Regions from separate parts of the Homo sapiens genome. Here region 2 is linked to region 1. Evidence: promoter capture Hi-C in 16 types of primary human blood cells and fetal thymus (Javierre and others, 2016). All regions are on one chromosome and are shown on one strand. The core of a region is centred on a gene start or on the middle of the fragment in contact, and the rest is flanking DNA. Distances in the headings are between cores, read along the strand shown. Region 1 holds the start of EIF3M (eukaryotic translation initiation factor 3 subunit M). Region 2 holds the start of COMMD9 (COMM domain containing 9).

Region 1 (3,286 bases), core at 268-2,767:
GATCAATGACAAGAACTTCCTCCATTCACTTTGTATGTTAAAAAAAAAAAAATTCCAAACACTTTCTCAGTTAACCTAACAGCCAACTGTTGGTAACATGCTTCCATTTCTAATCAGGTATCTTTTTGTCTTTCATATCTTCCTATCTGTGCTTAACCTCCCCATCCTTGACCTTTTCTCCGCCTTTTGCATTTTCCCTTCTTACTTTGCTCTTCAGAGCATCGGAACTGCATTCCTACCATGGGGCGGGGGGAGGAGAGAGGGGGAACTCACTCCCGCAATTCTGTAAGTTGTCTTAGACAAGTAAACTTCCATGCGAAGTTTATGATATCCAATCATTTGGAAGTTACTTCCGTGTTAGTGGAGTAACAGAAATAAAACGACAAAGTTAGGACTTCACAGAAGAATTTTCAGCAATACAAAATTAACTTAAAGAATACGATGTCGTGTTCAACTCCTACCAAATAAGGTTAAACTTTTGTTATGGGGAAAATGAGAACCATCAGCCCTGTATACCAAAGAGCAAACGCCAAACGGGAAATTTAAAAATATCAGGATGGTCCATCAGGTGTATGCCTCACAGAATTTAAGAGCTGAACTGATACCATACTTCCGGGGTACAGAACAACTCTCACCCTCATACAAGTAGGAATAGAAAGCAAGTGTAAAATACGGGTCGTCTTCGCCTGTGATCGCACAGTAATACGGGCGTTTTGATCTTTTTTTTTTTTTTTTTTTTTGAGAGGGACTCTCGCTCTGTCGCCCAGGCTGGAGTGCAGTGGCGCGATCTTGGCTCACTGCAAACTCCGCCTCGCGGGTTCAAGCGATTCTCTTGCCTCAGCCTCGGCAGTAGCTGGGACTACAGGCGCGTGCCACCGCGCCCGGGTAATTTTTTTGTATTTTTAATAGAGACAGGGTTTCACCGTGTTAGCCAGGATGGTCTCGATCTCCTGACCTCGTGATCTGCCCGCCTCGGCGTCCCAAAGTGCTGGGATTAAAGGCGTGAGCCACCGCGCCCGGCCCGGCATTTTGATCTTTAGCACAAAATTACTTTTCCCTACCCTGCTTATGCTAACTACAGATTCACCACCTCCCACTCCGAATGTGGCTGCATTTGACGGACGGAAGCAGACATCATTCCTCATCAGTCTAAAAGTACTATGTCGTCAGAAATGAGTCCCGACGCCGACCAGGGAGCTGGCGGTGAAGCGTCGGGCCCCGCGCTGGGACCGCCGGCCGGCGAGCTGGTGCGAATCGAGGCCAGGAACGCGCGCCCCAGCCACCGGCCTCCCCATTCTCGCGTGTAGAACAGCTGCGGGTGTCAGCCCCGGCCGCCCGGCCCAGGCTCGGCAGCGGTCCCTTGCGCTACTAGGACATCCCCCACCCCACCGTGGCGGCACCCGTAGACCGAAGCACACCTGATCTTCTTCACTGATGTCGATGAAGGCCGGGACGCTCATGGTGCAGGCCCGGGCACAGCGGACACTCCACTCGCAAGACCACGCCGACCGGAAAAGGGAACTGGGCCGCGCGACGCTGCTGGCGCAACTGCTTCCGGGTCACCCTGAGCGGCGACCTGTTGGGGCGGGGCCTTGAGAGCCAATCCTATCGCGCGCTCTCGCCGCGGAATGCAGCAGGGCGTGGCAGACGCGCTCGGGCTGGCCTAGTGGGTGGGACTTACTGGGCCTCCACTCAGCGACGCTTGTCGCGGCCTCCAGTTTTCAGGCCCGTGTAGCTAACTGCATTGATGTTGCCTCCCGCTGGCGCCTCCCTAAGTCCACCTTCCCTTGAAATGTTAAGCTTGTTGGGTCTTACCAAGTATGGATGGGTTTGTGTAGACCTGAAACTCTCCTGTACTGCTGTTGGGAACATAAAATGGTGCAGTCACTTTGCAGAGGAGCGGCAGTTTCTGAAAAAGTTCAGTATCCACCCAGCATATGACCCAGCTATTCTTCTACCCAAACTGTATGTCCGTACAAAGACTTGTACAAGAATGTTCATTGCCGCTTTTAAAAAATAGCAGCTTTGGCTGGGCGCAGTGGATCTCACGCCTGTAATCCCAGCACTGTGGGAGGCCGAGGTGGGCGGATCACTTGGGGTCAGGAACTGGAGACCAGCCTGGGCAACATGGCAAAACCCCGTCTCTACTAAAAATACAAAAATTACCGGGGCATAGTGGTGCGCGCCTGTAATCCCAGCTACTCGGGAGGCTGAGGCAGGAGAATCACTTCAACCTGGGAGAAGGAGGTTGCAGTAAGCCCAGATCATGCCACTGCATTCCAGCCTGGGCGACAGAGCGAGACTCCGTCTCATAAAATAAATACACAATTCAGTAGTTTTTAGTATTTTCAGAGTTGCACAACCATCACTACTATTTAATTTTAGAACATTTTCATCACCTACAAAAGAAACTACCCATCAGCAATCACTCCCCAGACCCCCGGCCCCACCTCTCTCCAGCCCCTGGCAAACACTACATTTTGTCTCTATGAATTTGCCTTTTCTGGACATTTCATGTAAGTGGAATCACAAAATACACGGTGGCCTAAGTCAGACTTACTTCATTTAGCATAATGTTTTCAAGGTTCGTCCATGTATCCCTCCTATATTCCTATTTATTGCTTATAATATTGCATTGTTATGGATATACCACATTGTGTTGATTTGTTCATCAGTTGGTGGACACTTGGGTTGTCTCCATTTTTTGGCTATTATGAATAATGTTTCCATGAACGTTAGTGCACAAGATTTTGTGTGTACGTATATTTCTCTTAGGTATGTACCTATGAGAGGAATCAGTGGCTTATTTAGTAAATTTATGTTTAGCTTTTTCAGGAGACAGTTTCCAAAAAGTTAACACTTTATTTTCAATAGCCAAAAAAAAGGAAACAACCCAAATGTTCATCAATAGATGAATGAAGTGGATCAAAAAATTGTTATACATCTGCTTAATGGAATACTGCTGTGCAACAAAAAAGGATGAATTATTGATACATGCAAAAACACAGATGAATCTTTTTTTTTTTTCAGTCTCTTCAGCCTGGGTGACAAAGTGAGTGAGACTCCATCTCTTAAAATAAAAGCTTGATTTTTTTTCTTTAGTTGACAATCCCAAAATAATTCAAAATAATTTTGTTCAGTTAATCATCATACTGTATGATTCCATTTATATAAAACTCTAGAAAGTAGAAACTATAATGACAGCATTATAGATTGCTGTTGCCTGGGGGCAGGGATTGGGTAAGGCGGGGGGAAAGATGGATACAGAGGGGCTTGAGGAAGTTTT
Region 2 (3,286 bases), core at 572-3,071, 3.7 Mb before region 1:
GTTGGCCAAGACTCCTGCCTTCTTAAGGCTCTACTGGGCCTAGACAATCTGCTTCTCAGGTCAGTAATGAAGTTGTTGGCCAGATGCTTCAGTTCCTTGTCACCTAGGCCTCTCTGTAGGACTGTTTACAACATGGCAGTTTGCTTTCCCCAGAGCAAAGGATTCAAGTGAAAGAGAGCAGGGCACATGAGAGAGCACCCAAGCCAGGAGACAGGAACTTCAGTCTTTTTGTTAGTTTTTTGGTGCAGTCTTGTATAACCTAATCTCAGAAGTGATATGCCATTCACACCCACCATTTGCTATTGGTCATGCATACCAATCCTGGTACATGGTGGGAGGTGTCTACACTAGGTTGTGAACACCAGGAGGCTGGGATCATTGAGGGCCATCTTGAAGGCTGGTGACCACACTCCTCATTACTCTAAAGTAAGACAAGAAGGCACAATCCTGCAAATACCAAGGCAATATCCTCAAATAAGTCACAAAATTTCATCTTAGTCTAATCACTTTTTTGGGTGGTTGTTTATTTAACAAATATTCAATTAACCCAAGACAATGGGCCCAGCCCTATAGATACAGGCAGGAGTTAAACCTAGAACCTACATTGAGTTATAACAGAAACCAGGAATCAGGCCATGAGGGTTCATGGAAAAGAGAGGCCAAGAAAGAGAGCTAGAATCAGGACCCTGTGACAAAATGGTTCTAAAATCTTCTAATCCAGGAATGGGTTCCTCCTTAGACAATTTGATTTTTGGTTTCCTGGGCCTTGACAACATCCCCACAGAAAATGGAGTCGGGGAAGGGGAAGGGGGAGGAGAGGAGACAAAGGAACAAATGTCCTTAGCAGCTTACCAATTTCTGGAATTTCACAAATGGGCATTCTTTCTTAAGCTCGAATATATCAGAACCCATTTTTTGAGCTGGAATTTGCTTAAAAAAAAGTGGAGGGTAGGAAAAGAAAAGAGCCACCCAAATACTAAAGGTAGATAAAGGAAATGTCTGTTTTGATGTACGGTCTCTGAGAACAGGGCAAATCAGAGTCCAGTACTGCCAGTGCAAAATCACTCTTTACAATTATATTCATTATAATTACCTTTTTGAATAAATGAACTAAATCATTTCCATTAACCTCCTCCCCCATCTCACCCCCGTATAACAAGAACCTAGCTAGGTAGTAGCTTTCATTCCATTCCTCTCTTGTCCCCTCTCCCAAACACTTCCTCACCTGCTCTTGTAATCAGATCTTCTCTATGACTATGGGAAAGTTACTAAAAACCCTAAATGATTATTTCCCAATCTGGATAATACTAATAATACCAGCTCCAACCTACTACATAGGCTGAAAAACTATATACGCAGAAGTAATTTTACATTCAAGACAGGATGTGTGCATGTGTGTGTGTCAATTCCAAGAAGCCCGATATGCACAGCCTCATTTTCATTCCAAACACTGGTACGCCGATCACTCCTGAACAACTACGTTTCCAAGGCGCCTGCCAAGCTTGCAGGTGCATTCCCCAAGTGCGCCAGCCCACCCACATGGGTCAAGGGAAAACCTGTTTCCCTGACTTGGTAAGTAGACAAGTCAAGCCAATTTCCTCCCCGAGTAAACCATCCTCCGCCCTGGTCCCCCTAGTCCTTTGGTTCTAGAGTCTCGGGGTTTAGTCATCCAGCCGCCGCGTCCGTCTTGATCCGCGCTCACTGCCGCAGCACCACAACCGAAACGCCTTCCCCCACTCTGAAGGACTACAGCCCCCGGCAGGCCCCGCGACAACAGCGACAGCCACGTGACCTCGCTTCCCTGGGTGCCACGGTCATGTGACTTCGGCAAGATGGCTGCCCTGACAGCGGAGCATTTTGCAGCACTCCAGAGCCTGCTCAAGGTAAGTCGAAGGGGTGGGGACAGCGTGAGGTGGCCCTTTGTCTCCGAGACTTTAGACGGAGCAGGAATTGGGAACAAATTGACCCTGGTTTGGAGCCACAACTCTGCTGCTTGTTCTCTGTGTGATCCCAGGCAAATCGTTGCGTCTTTCTGAGCTTTTAAAAAGTAAGAACAAAATATCGTTTTGACAGGAACGTAAGATAAAAAAAAATAAAATAATGGGCATGAAGGCGCAGTACAACCTCCTGCTATTAGTCTTTGGGATTGGTTTTCGGTATTGGTGCATTGAAGTGGTAATTGCTAGACCCACGTTGTCAGTTCCCCATTTCATCCCGTAGCCCCTCCTGCATTGCACAATTAAGAAATTATCTCCTACTGCGTCTGCCCAGCCCTCCGAATGACCTGTGCGTTCAATGTTCCCTTGAGGTCCAGATTTTCCCTACTCTCTTTGACCTGCGAAAGGGGCAGGACATACTCCTGATAATCATTTGAAAAGTTGTGAGGTTGAAAGGGACCTACTTCATAGGGCTTTGTAAAGCTCAAATGAAGTATTATTATTATTTGAGACGGAGTCTAGCTCTGTTGTCCAGGCTGGAGAGCAGTGGCGCAATCTCGGCTCACTGCAACCTCCGCCCCCCGAGTTCAAGCAATTCTATGCCTCAGCCTTCCGAGTAGCTGGGATTACAGGCGCCCGCCACCAAGCCTGGCAAATTTATGTATTTTTAGTAGAGACGGGGTTTCAACATCTTGGCCAGGCTGGTCTTGAACTCCTGACCGCGTGATCCACTCGCCTCCGCCTTCCAAAGTGTTGGGATTACAGGCGTGAGCCACCGCGCCTGGCCGGAATTATTTAACTTATGATTTGCCCTGTAGGAGAAAGGGCAGCTTTATTTTCCTTCGTAGAACTTGTCGCTAGCTATTTGCCCGTTGTCCGTCTGTCTCATAAGAATGTAAGATCCATCAGGGACCTTTCCTTTCTTCCTCTCTCTTTTTTTTTTTTTTTAAACACCAGGTGAAGAGGGTTGAGTTACTCTCCTCAATTTATGGCACATCATCATCATCGGTCCATGTAATAGTCTCTGTTTTGTTTTACTTATTTATTTTTTAATTGCCTTCTCAGTGTTCATTAGCATTCTCCACTCCTAAGGGGATCTACTCTTTTGTTCACAAGTGTTAATGCCCAATAAGTAGAACAATAATACCTGGCACACAGCACGTGCTCAGTAAATAGCTGTTAAATGAATTAATAAATGAAGTAACAGAGCTGGGACTGGCAATCTAGGGCTCTCAGCTCCCAACCCAGTGCCTTTTCACCTTCATTTTGGCTGCTCTGTACCTACCCCCGCCCCTATACCTGTTGGTCTTATGCACTCTTTTCTTTTAAAAACTTTAAAAGATTAGTGT

The links. The method cuts DNA at HindIII sites, captures the fragments that hold promoters and counts their contacts. A CHiCAGO score of 5 or more calls a contact.
Region 2: the fragment with the promoter of COMMD9 here is called in contact with the fragment with the promoter of EIF3M in region 1 in 1 of 17 cell types (non-activated CD4 T cells); the score reaches 6.1 in non-activated CD4 T cells.

What each region holds. Positions count from the first base shown.
Region 1 is chr11:32,582,062-32,585,347 of GRCh38, reverse strand. EIF3M (eukaryotic translation initiation factor 3 subunit M) reads right to left here and starts at 1,517. Exons shown (of 11, transcript NM_006360.6): 1 at 1,419-1,517. The coding sequence starts at 1,460. RefSeq lists enhancers at 1,362-1,511, 1,154-1,806 and a silencer at 1,672-1,731. The HindIII fragment of the contact is 5,112 bases long and covers 1-1,802 here.
Region 2 is chr11:36,287,959-36,291,244 of GRCh38, reverse strand. COMMD9 (COMM domain containing 9) reads left to right here and starts at 1,821. Exons shown (of 6, transcript NM_014186.4): 1 at 1,821-1,883. The coding sequence starts at 1,833. RefSeq lists enhancers at 1,671-1,920, 1,757-2,459. The HindIII fragment of the contact is 8,947 bases long and covers 1,504-3,286 here.